Linked DNA regions of Homo sapiens: region 1 is linked to region 2. Evidence: promoter capture Hi-C in human tissues and cell types (Jung and others, 2019). All regions are on one chromosome and are shown on one strand. The core of a region is centred on a gene start or on the middle of the fragment in contact, and the rest is flanking DNA. Distances in the headings are between cores, read along the strand shown.

Region 1 (6,001 bases), core at 2,365-4,864, 100 kb before region 2:
TGCAGTGGCGCATTCTCAGCTCACTGCAAGCTCCGCCTCCCTGGTTCAAGCCATTCTTCTGCCTCAGCCTCCCGAGTAGCTGGGACCACAGGCGCCCGCCACCATGCCCGGCTAATTTTTTGTATTTTTTAGTAGAGACGGGGTTTCACCGTGTTAGCCAGGATGGTCTCGATCTCCTGACCTCGTGATCTGCCCGCCTTGGCCTCCCAAAGAGCTGGGATTACAGGCTTGAGCCACTGTGCCCGGCTTAAAATTTAGTATCTTTTAGTGATTGCTAGATCTCTTTGTCAGTGAGTTAATTAATCTAATGGGCTGATAGCAGCTGAGGATGTCCCCAAGAATACTTGTTAGCTAAGAGAAGAAAATGGAGGGATATATGTGATACTTGTTTTCTTTGATGCTGTTGTAATTCTTGTGATTTTCATATATGTGAATACAAGACTTCCACACCATGCCCTTTCTTTCGGTATCTGTAAAATTTAGAAGCTTTAAAATGTATAATGTACATTTGTTACATTTCTGAACCTTTTTGCTCATGCTCTTTGTTCCCTGATGTAGAATGTTCTTTTCTGTCCGTCAAGGCCCAACCTGAATGTTGTCATTAAATGTCAGGCCTTTCCTCAGTCTTCTTAGTCATAATCATAAAGCCCTTCCATTCTGTAGCACTTTTTATTTCTACTAGTGTTCTTATTGAACAACATGTTGAAACAATTATAAACATTTGTGCCCTCCACTTTATGGCAATCCCATGAGATGGAGCCCCTGATTTTTGTGTCTTCCACATTACCTACCACAATCCTTTGTACACTGCTTAGTTGTTCATTGGATATCTTCAAAAAACAGCCCCTATCCTGCCTGTCTGAAAACTAGAATTATAGGAGAGCCTGCTATGATAGTTCATGTAGATAATACATATTAATGGTCTCTGGAAAGATTCTAAATATTTATAATGTGTTGGTTTATATTAACTAGTTAAGTAAAGTAATAAACCCCAAGTGTGTTGGTCTGTATTCTGCATTAGGGACTGAGAAATATATAGATGAAAATGCATTGTTTCTGTCTTTGATCAGCTGTCAGTCTTGTGGGAAAATGATGGATAAACAGATCATTGCAGTGTACTTTAGCAACCACCATACATAATGGAGGTTCAAAAGGGACAGCAGCAGTGTAGAGGAAGCTTAAGTCTGCCTCTGCTTGGGAAATTCACAGGGTAGTATACTTAGAGGGATTTGAAGGAAGAGTGTGTTTTGCCAGCTGTTCAAGTTGGAGAAAGCATTCTGGGCAGGACAAACAGTGTATGCAAAGGCATGGAGGAGTAAGGAGGAGTAAGAGAGCCTGCCAAGTCAAGAGAGTGTGATTGGTCAGTATTTCTGGAGCAAGCTAACATGGCTTTAAATGAATATAGGAATCATTTTCTAAAAAGTGCTCTTCAGCTACATTATATTTGGAGATTAACTATTTGACAATTAATGGAACAACTGTTGAAAGCTTTTGTATGTATTTTGCTTTACATAAAACTCTAGATTAATTGACTAAGAATTTTCTATTCTAAATTGTGGTGGCTCACACCTTTAATCTCAGCACCTTGGGAGGCTGAGGGAGGATTGCTTGAGCCCAGGAGTTCAAGACCAGCCTGGGCAACACAGCAAGACTTTGTCTCTACAAAAAATTTAAAAACTAGCTAGGCATGGTAGCATGTGCCTGTGTTCCCAGCTACTTGGGAGGCTAGGTGGGAGGATCGCTTGAGCCCAGGAGGTCAAGGCTGTAGTGAACTATGATTGTGACACTGCACTCCAGCCTGGGCAACAGAGCAAGACCCTGTCTCCCTGACCCCACAAAAAGAAATAAATACATTGTTAATTTGATTTTTCTAATTTAAAATGTTGGAAGAATATTTTGGTATGTGAGTTTATATGTATATATGAACAGAAATATAGTCTGTTGATAGAAGTGTCACATAATTTGTTGCTCAGATAGATTGTTTCTACTTGTTTTTTTGTCAGTGATTGAGAGCATGGGCTTTGTAGTCAGGCCTAGTTGAGATTCCTGCTCCGTCACTTGCCTCAAGAGCCCTAATTTTCTCACAGAATTTGAGTATTAAATGGGAAAATGCTTGTAAAGCACTTAGTATGATGCTTGGTATGTGTATGCCTACAGTAAATAATAGCTCTGAAGTACTTCTTTTTAGCACTAAAAGCTCCACCATAATGCTGGTTCCAGTTAATTGAATTATTTGGCTAACAAGAACATCCTTTTAGTTCTCTGAAGTGTATCAAGGCACTTTCCCTACATTATGACCTAGAGCATAGAGAAAAGAGTTATATTTTCATCAATGATTTAAGATCCTGTAGTCCCTTATGGCAGTAATTTAAAACATCAGTTCTTGTAGAGAACTGTCATCTGGAAAATTGGGCTGGAATCTGACTCCAGCACATGCACTGGCAATCACATAGGGGAGTTTGGGGTTTGTGTGTCTTTTGGCACTTAGCGTGTATATATTTTGCTTCTTTGTCTTTTTTTTCCATCCATAAAAAATTCCTAATGTCACCTTATTTTCTTGCAGTTTACCTTCTTTTTCCTAAAAAGAGAATATTGGAGAAAAATGTTGTTTCCCCTCTGTGATTCAGATTATCTTTAGAGATTCAAACATCATCTAATCTAACATTATTACAGTTGATAAAACTGAGAGTCTCCAAAAAATTAATTGACTTGCTCTCCCTCAAATATTTGGTTAATGGAAGAAACAGTGAGTATTTAAACCAGTTTCCTAACCAGGAGGCCTGCACAAATACAGCTTAGCGCTGGGAAATTAATTTCCACACCACCCGTAAAGATGCTTAAGCTGAAAAATAAAATCTGCCAGGAGAGATTAAGAACCGTTTTGCCTGGAATAGAAAAGGCTGAGGCAGAAAAGAAAAATAATGGTTCTAGTGGGTGGTCCTGATGCCTGACTGGAGAGGAGGGCCAGAGAACAGTGGTAACTCATGGGTGGCAGCAAGTCAGTAAACGGCCTGTGGAAGCTTGAGATCCTAGCAGCACAGAGGTTTAGGGATGTCCTCCACTGTTTGGATAACTTCTGAGGCCTCCAGCCCTGCCATGCTAAACTTGTAACAGTGGTGCTCGTGAGTATTTAATCTATGTGTAAGGTTAAGATTACTAAGGGGGGAAGCAGAACTCCAAGTGGTTGGTGGCCCAAGGGGTTTTGATTTTCAACAGTGTCTTTTAACCTGAAACTAGTTATAAAATTCCTTGAGCATTCTTCCATTTCACCATGTGTAAAATTTAGAAAGTTTTCGATCCTTCATGATAGGATTTAGTGTTTTCTTTTTCTCATTTTTCTGGAACAGCCTATTTCAGTAGTACAATATTTTCTTTACCTTTCAGAGGTAATGGCAGATTATCATTAACTTGAAATGAGAAACTATAGTGAAATGAAGAAGCATTGTTTATGTTAGTAACCTTTACCAAATACTCTTGTCATTGATATACATTAAAATGATATACATAAGGTACACAGTACTGTGTATAATATCTTACTCTCTGGGTATTTTTCCTACTCTGTGGGTAATTTTTGTTTAAATGTGCATAGTCATTCTCTAGTAGAATATCTAAGAAACTGGAACTAGAAACTATGGGGGAGAACCAGGTACCTGGGGGACAAAATAAGCAAATTATTATTTTTCACTGTGTATCTTCTGTACCTTATGAATTTTGTATCATTAATTATTTAGAAAAAAATAAAATTTGCTTTCAGTATTACACAGAATAATGAAAACAGAAGATTCTAGACCTTGCTATCTCTATTCTCTGGCATATAGGCTGTTTTTTATGTGAAACCCTTCCTCCATTTGAAATTGTATACAGAGCCCCACTGTATAAAACAGTTTTTTTAAAAGGCACTGCTCTGGGCAAAGCCAGGGTAGGGATTGTTCTGGTCTCCCTCTGGTGTCCCTGGGGGTGTTTTTACGGAACCCAGTGGGTGGCAGAACATAATGAGGACTCTGGATGTAGTGGAATGAGCACAAGGTTTTGCATCCCGGCTCCACTACTTGTTGCCATATAGCATTGAGAAAGTTGCTTATTCTCATTGAGCCTCATCAGTAAAAACTCCCTCCCAGGTTGTTGCAGAGCTCAGTATCTGAGGCTTAGAATGGGGACTCAGTGGAAGCCAGTTTCTTTACCCCTTCTTTCTGTGTACTTGGCTCACAATATATCTGGAGTGGCAGGAAAACAGTAAAAGTAGTCATATCCTAACTTTAGACTATGAAAGTCGAAGATACTATTTTGCCAAGCCATTTTAGATTCTGGTGTTTTTTGTTTGGTTGGTTGGTTTGGTTTTTTAAAACAACCAGTAAAGGATTTTGGACTTTTCTTGGCTCTGTTGGAGGCTACCAGTTACTGTGGGGATTGAGTAGTGACTAGAAGTGGGTATGAAGAGAACTTCCCATGTTCTGGTAATGTTAGTTCTTGACCTGGGTGCTAGTTAGGTGGGTGTGTTCGCTTTGTGAAAATTCTTCATTACATACTTAACAATTTGGGCACTATTCTGTACTTGTATAAAAAGAAGGCTTTTAAAAATAAAAAATAATCACAGACGTTACTTTTGTGAAATGCTCTCCATTGGCATCTGTTGCTATATAGAAGCATCCTAGCACCTTTTCTGTCTGAGAATCCTTCCTTGATCTGAAAATGTTGACATGTTTCCCATGACCTTTCTTTTTGGGGTATATATGTCTATAACTAATTCAAATGTCTTTTGTGAAGGAAGATGGAGGTTAATAAAGGACAGATTTCATGCTCTGATCATAGTTGAGTTAGAAAGATAGCAACTTGTACACTAGTCTCTGTTTCCAGAGACTGCCTTCAACTTGATTGGCCTTTTGACCTAAAACTGTAATATAGCACTCTTGGCTTTTAACTCAGCTCCAAGGTGACAGGGTGCTTAAAGATATTTTCTCTATTATCTTAAAAATGCCTACATTTGGTTAGATTATAAAGTGGCAGCAAATAAATGGTTGTCTTTAATGTCAGAGAATGGGTAAATTATTGTTTATCCTACTATGAGCAATTTTAATACAATTCAAATCATAGAATTTTATGTGGAAACTATTTGGAAATAAAAACAGGCAAAAAGTTTTATGTGGTTTTTGTATTTGTATTTTGCATAGTTTTGGGGCCTTCAATTCTGTGTGGTCCAAGAAAAAAATCTCAGCCTCTATTTATTTTAAATTTCCGAAGACTTCAGTTTTCAAATTATTTAACTCTACCAATATTCTTTCTTGTGTATGGATAAATCAGCATGAGAATATGTCTGTGCTAGGCCTTCCTGGGTTGTGTTTTGGGTAATGGCAGTAGATGAGAATGAACTGGGAGTATGAACTCAGACTGAGAATGAGAATCGGAAGAAGATTAATGAAGGAGGAAAAGGATACGAAATCTGACTTCCCCCACTACCAGAGGAAGAGAGTCTTGGTTCTCTATCAGAGGAGCAATAGACTTTATTAAGATTTATTTTTGTTTTAGCCTTGTTTTAGTTTCTAAAAATTATTCTATCTGCAGGATATGGATTTTTCAACATTTGAATAGTTATTTGAAAAGTTCATAAATGGAAATGGGAAGTGATGAACAGCTTTGTTATAATAACAGCATCATGAGTGCATCCTATGTGCCAGGCAGTGTACATTATAATTTTGGCTTTATATTTGATCTTTAAATGCTCTTGTAAGTTACCTCTTCATTTTGAGGAACCGAGGCTAAGAGAGGATAAGAAACTTGCCTAAGGTGACATAGCTGAAGTGGTAGGGCCATCATGGTCCAAGCCCAGAAATGCAGATTATTCCCACTATTTCATTTTAAAATGTTACTTTATATTTGAAGTTTTCCTTAGGTTGCATACTTTGTAAGAACTATATTTTTTGACATGCCTGTTGGAACAGCTCTCGCAGTCTGCTTATCTGACAGATGTTTATAATTGTCTGCTGACTTTTTTTTACCCTTTTTA
Region 2 (5,959 bases), core at 2,039-4,538:
CATCCAGTGCATTCTGCAGCCACTGAGACACACTTGCCTGGGGGGAGGGGCCAGGGGCAAAGGAATGTAGCAGGGATCTGACCCTGCTGGAGATGGGTAGACATTCCACTCTGCAGATAAAGGCCCACAGCAGATAAGTAGGACTTCTCTGGACCTGTGCCTCAACTACTCACCTGGATGTTGGCCACAAATGTTGCCTCCAGCTGCTCAATGTTCTCCAAGGTCAGAAGGGGCTCCAGCTGGGACACATCAGCCTCAGGCCCCAACTCCAGGCTCCCCATCATTTCCTGCCTGGAGATAGGTGGCCTGGTGTCACACCAAGCCACCAAGCCCCCAGCCTCTGATCCCCCATGTCCCGCTGCCCCAAAGGCACTGACCCCAGGTACACATGCAGTGCCCAGTGCAGCAAGGCGAAGGCATCCGCAGCTTCTAGCTCAGGCCCTGCAAGGAGGTTCTGCAGGCTGCGGCGCAAACCACTATGCAGCGTGTGGGCCCATAGCTGGACCACGTTGTACTGTGGCGGGCAGCAAGGCGCTACTAGTGCCTCAGCTGTGGCCAACTCGACTGGCAGGGCCACTCGCAGAGCCTCCAGCCACCCTGGTAGGGCCCCTGGTGCAGGCAGCAGAGGTGACCCAAAGTGGGCCTGCTCCAGGCCCTCCTGTAGTGCCCTCAGACAGCGCTGACGCCAGTCCCGGGGGACCTGGCCCAGGGGGGTTGTTCGTCCAGTCTCCACCTCCGCCACACGCACAGCAGCCACCAACAGGGCTGGGTCCTCCCGTGCCAGCTTCCCTGCGGCCCCTGCAGCTGCTTCCACAGCCTGGCCCAGTGCCTCGAACAGAAGGTCCAGCCCCTGGAAGACTGGCAACTCCAGGCCCCCCAGGGGTGCCCACGTATCCTCTCGCAGCTGCTCCAGCTCCCGAAGGCTCACATATGCCTCCAAGAACTGTTGGCCATCAATCAGAGTCTGTGTGTGGGACACTGCAGCCGGCACTAATGAGAGTGAAAAGGAGACGGCCCTGGGTCTCAGCCTTCCCACCGCCTCAATGTGTACAGCAGGGGATACTGAGGCCCAGGGCGGGGGTGATGCATAAAATATTTAACAACCAGTAGAGTAAGCTGGGCACAGTGGCTCATGCCTGTAATCCCAGCACTTCGGGAGGCCAACGTGGGTGAATCACTTGAGGTCAGGAGTTTGAGACCAGCCCGGCCAACATGGTGAAATCCCATCTCTACTAAAAATACAAAAATTAGCCAGGCATGGTGGCACATGCCTGTAATCCCAGCTACTGGGGAGGCTGAGGCAGGAGGATTGCTTGAACCTGGGATATGGAGGTTGCAGTGAGCCGAGATCACACCACTGCACTCCAGCCTGGGTGACAGAGTGAGACTCTGTTTCAAAAACAAAACAAAACAAAAAATGAACAAAAAACCATAAATAAATAAATAAATAACCAGTAGAGTACTGGCCAATCTAAGAGGATCTTGGCAATGTCCTAAAGACCTGGTGGGCCAGAGGTCAACCCATGAACTCATGGAATATGAGGAAGCTGAGGATCCTGGAGGGAAGGCAGGGGAAATCGGGGGGTCCTGCCAGTACTCGCTCAGCCACTCTGTTAGGGAAGAGTTTGAATATACTGATAACCAGGTGGCCAGAGTCACATGACTGGGTGTCTGTCCTGACTCAAGCATCCCACACGTGGGAATCCCAGGATGAGCTGCCTCATAGGCCATGGGAAGCCCGGGCTACTGTCTGGGAGGTCCCTGGTGTGCTGCTCTATGCAGTTCCCCATCTAGTGCCCCAGCCCCTTGATTAGGGATGGGTGTTTGTGGACTGACTATTGGAGGCTGAGGCCCAGGGTCCCTGCATGCTCACCTGCCCGCAGCCGAGGCAGCAGGTGAGACAGGGCCTGCAGTTGCTTGTGCTGGGCAACCCGCTCCCGTAGGGGCTCTAGAGTCTGTAAGGCCTGGGACATGCCCTGGAGCAACCCACGGGCCTGGCTCAGGGCCTCCCGGGTTCCCTGCACCACCTCAATGGCCTGGGCCAGCTGCCACACACCAGTCTGCACGCCTTCCAGGTATGACTGCATCACTGACTGTGGAAAGATGGAGCCATGAGGCTGGGCCAGCCCTGCAGCACAGTCCCAGCACCCGCACCCCCTGCCCCATGCCCACCTTGAGGCGCGATTCCAGGGAGCAGGTACGCTGCACCTCGCGGCTGCGGTACTGGCCTAGCCTGGCCAGCTGCTCCGGCCGGTAGAAGATGCCTGAGGCCCACTTGAGCGCTGCACCCCGGGCCAGCTGCTCTGCCCGCTCCTGCTCTGGCCACTCAGGTCCTGGGAAGGAAGAGCCTGGGCAGCCGTGTAGTCAGGGAGGAGGGCCCAACGACCCCAGTCCCAGCTTTCTTATTTATTTATTTATTTATTTATTTGTTTGTTTATTTGTTTATTGAGATGGAGTCTCGCTCTGTTGCCCAGGCTGGAGTGCAGTGGTGCAATCTCGGGTCCCTGTAACCTCCGCCTCCCGGGTTCAAGCGATTCTCCTGCCTCAGTCTCCCGAGGAGCTGGGATTACAGGCGCGTGCCATCACGCCCAGCTAGTTTTTGTATTTTTAGTAGAGACGGGGTTTCACTATGTTGGCCAGGTTGGTTTGGAGCTCCTGACCTCAGGTCATCTGCCCATCTTGACCTCCCAAAGTGTTGGGATTACAGGCGTGAGCCACTGCGCCCAGCCAGTCCCATCTTTGTTGCCATCATTCCTCCCCTAGTCCACCCAAAAGGTTCATACCAGGGGACAACGCCGGCTGCATCTCATCCTTGGCTGCTGAGTCCATTGTGGGCCTGGAGGAGCCAGAGCTGAGGTGGGCCCGGGGCAAGCAGGCAGAGTAGATGCCCCTGTGAGCTGCTGCCTCTGTCTAAGCCCTTCTGAGAGGAGGAAGGAGGTTCTTCCCGGCCCCCTCGGGAAGTGAGAGGGAGCGGGTGTGATGCGGAGGGCACCTGGGAGGCTTTGCCTGCTAGGTTTCCCAGTCGTGCCCCTGCAGATGTCAAGCGAGACAGAGTGGGCACAGGCCTCCACTGGACCCTGGTCCTGCTCTGAGCTGCACAGGACAGTTTGGTACAGAACTTACCAGATTTGATCAGGCGTCCAGTTCTCCCTCCAAAAATGACCTTGGCCTTGAGAACAGCCCTCTCCCCAATGCAGCTGGGCACGCCTGCCACTTGCTCACAGGGCCTGGGCAACTCCAGCTGACTCCAGCGTGCAGCTGAATTCCTCTCCCCAAGGAAGTCTCTCTCCCACTCCCCACCCAGAAGCCCCTTCTTCCCACCGAGGCTCCTCCCTCCCCAAGGCCATCAACAGAAAGGAAGGAAGCTGAGTCTCTGGCATTTTATTCCCAACAGGAAAGAGTGTCTGCACAGAGGGTGGGGACAGCTGGGCGACACTTCCCTGAGGGGCGGGGGGGTGGGGTGTACTTGTACTCAACCAGTCTTGACCAGCCTACCCAGAACCTCTTAGTGCTCAGGAGAGGAGATAGGGATTTGCTAGACTTGGCCTCAACCTGGGGTGGTGGGCAGAGTGTGCAGATATGGATGCAGACGACATCAACAGCACAGGATGAAAACTGTGTTGGCCAGCCTCTGAGGAGGATGTGTACCTCTGCGGAGGAGTGAGAGGTGGCAGGCTCTTGTGAAGAGGGGTGTGGTGGGGGGTGGTAGGAGAGGGTCATGAAAGCTGTGTTTATCTTTTTTGTTTTAGACAGGGTCTTGATCTGTCACCAAGGCTGGAGTACAGTGGCACCACCATAGCTCACTGCAGCCTTCTGGGCTCAAGCGATCTGCCTGCCTCAGCCTCCCAAAGTGTTGGGAGATTACAGGCGTGAGTCACCGCAACTGGGCAGCTGTGTTTATCTTGAGAGTTATAGGGAGCCAGGGAAGGGACTATAAGGTGGTAATTATTTAGTGGATGTTCAGTCCACCACCCAAATCCACCCTTCAGGACAGAAGTGCTCATTCTCCAGCTGCCAGGAGTGTAGGCTACTGAGATCACACCACTGAGTCTCTCAGTCAATATTGGGGTGCAAAAGCATGGTACCATCGTGTGAACATGAACCCTTCAGAAGTGCTACCCCAATTTCAGAGATCCTAGTGGGATAGGCTGAGGCCTATAATATAATTGCATCTGCTCAATTCTGCTTGTCTTAATCCCTTAAAGGTGTGGATCCTGACCAGGTGCGGTGGCTCACACCGGTCATCCCAGCATTCTGGGAGGCTGAGGTGGGAGGATCTCTTGAGCCCACGAGTTCAAGACTAGCCTGGGCAATATAGTGAGACCCACATCTCTAAAAAACTAAAAATAAATGAGCCGGGCATGGTGGTGCATGCCTGTGGTCCCAGCTACTTGGGAGGCTGAGGTGGGAGAATCGCTTGGGCCCAGGAAGCTGAGACGGCATTGATCTTGCCACTGCACTCCGGCCTGGGCAACAGAGTGAGACCCTGTCTCAAAAAAAAAAAGTGTGGATCCCCAACAAACTTGCTGCAAAACCCTATCTCGAGTCCCATTTCCCAGAGGACCTGATCTAAAAGAAACAATAATAAATAGTAACAATGTTAAAAGTTACAAAATGACCGTATCACACATTCCTGCATGCCAGGAATGACTGAGTGCTTTACTGATATTTACACATAGGTAAACACGTTTGCATTGGCTGAAGTGTTCATAACCCCATAGTCTCTGAGCACTGTACTGTGAGGACAAGACGAGCGAAAGATGAGGCTAGGACCATGGGTGGAACAAGGTGGACAAGGTAGATATAGTTAGTGCTTGCTGTTTGGCAGGAAGTGAGGGATAGGAATAGATGGGGTGACCCCAAGACAGTAGGGCAGCCTTTAGGAACAGGTTTGATGTGGCAGTAAAATGAGTTTGAAATATATAAAAGAATAAATAAAGAGAAAAAAATGGAAAAGGAACAGGTTTGAGGGAGCAGATTGGATTAGTCAGGTAGTGTGGTCTCCTCTCCCAAGATGGGGACTAGGCAGAGTTAGTGATGTTGGGGCAGATTGGCAAGGAAAGTTCCGATGGCGTCCCCTTCTCTACTGCCAGGGCGGCCCACTGACGCCCTTCTCATTCCTCCCCAACTTCATCCCAACTCCCCGGTCTACCCAGGTAGTTTTCGTCTTATTCGGAGGCTGGACATTTGCTACTGGTCCCTGAAGTTTTGCGGCTGCACCCACAGACAGCAATAGCGCCACGTTCCCTGGAAGGCGCACGGGACGGAAGCGGAAGCAGTAACGCTGGCTCCGGCTGCCCGGCGGCCAGGAACGGAAGCGGAAGTGGCGGCGGCGCCGGCCTGGCCTGGCCTGGCTGAGGGGAGGCGGCGGGCGGGCGCGATGGCGGAGGCCGGGCCACAGGCGCCGCCGCCCCCGGGCACTCCAAGCCGGCACGAAAAGAGCCTGGGACTGCTCACCACCAAGTTCGTGTCCCTTCTGCAGGAGGCCAAGGACGGCGTGCTTGACCTCAAGCTGGTGCGGCCTGGGCTAAGGGGAGACAAGGGAGGCTGGTGGACCAGGCCTGGGCCGGTAGCGGGAACCCCGGGGGCGGCCCAGCTGGGTCCTCCGAGAGCCGGCCGCCATCGTGTGCTTTCTCACAGGAGAGAAGCCGGGGGATGTTTCATTCATTCGGCCGAGGCCATCGAGCTACAGCTATGGGCCAGGCTCGGGCTGCAGGTGTTCGTCCTCGTGGCCCTTCCTGGCTGGCGAGGAGAAGAGCTGCCTATGGGACAGAGCTGCGGTCCTGAGCTGCAGTAGCGCCTGGGAGGCACTACAGGGTTGGAATCCAGATTACTCCCTTCCCAGACCACGTCTCAGGGTGGCTGGGGGTACACCCCAGAGTGGGGCTGAGCATTCTCCATTCTCTCTGCCAGGCAGCTGACACCCTAGCTGTACGCCAGAAGCGGCGGATTTACGACA

What was found. The method cuts DNA at HindIII sites, captures the fragments that hold promoters and counts their contacts. A contact is called where the count stands out against the background at its distance.
Region 1: a contact is called between a fragment that was not itself captured here and the fragment with the promoter of EXOC3L1 in region 2, in 3 of the 25 tissues and cell types used here (dorsolateral prefrontal cortex, lymphoblastoid cells and mesenchymal stem cells).

What each region holds. Positions count from the first base shown.
Region 1 is chr16:67,085,730-67,091,730 of GRCh38, forward strand. The region is part of intron 5 of CBFB (core-binding factor subunit beta); the gene reads left to right. Among named protein-coding and RNA genes, the nearest start is that of PHAF1, 21 kb to the right of the region's middle. The HindIII fragment of the contact is 5,567 bases long and covers 832-6,001 here.
Region 2 is chr16:67,186,848-67,192,806 of GRCh38, forward strand. It overlaps EXOC3L1 (exocyst complex component 3 like 1), which reads right to left and starts at 3,289. Exons shown (of 14, transcript NM_178516.4): 1 at 3,124-3,289; 2 at 2,784-2,836; 3 at 2,173-2,333; 4 at 1,874-2,093; 5 at 378-990; 6 at 174-291; 7 at 1-37. The coding sequence starts at 2,829. It overlaps E2F4 (E2F transcription factor 4), which reads left to right and starts at 5,308. Exons shown (of 10, transcript NM_001950.4): 1 at 5,308-5,515; 2 at 5,914-5,959. The coding sequence starts at 5,381. RefSeq lists enhancers at 5,031-5,959, 5,130-5,269 and a silencer at 5,360-5,549. The HindIII fragment of the contact is 11,498 bases long and covers 2,242-5,959 here.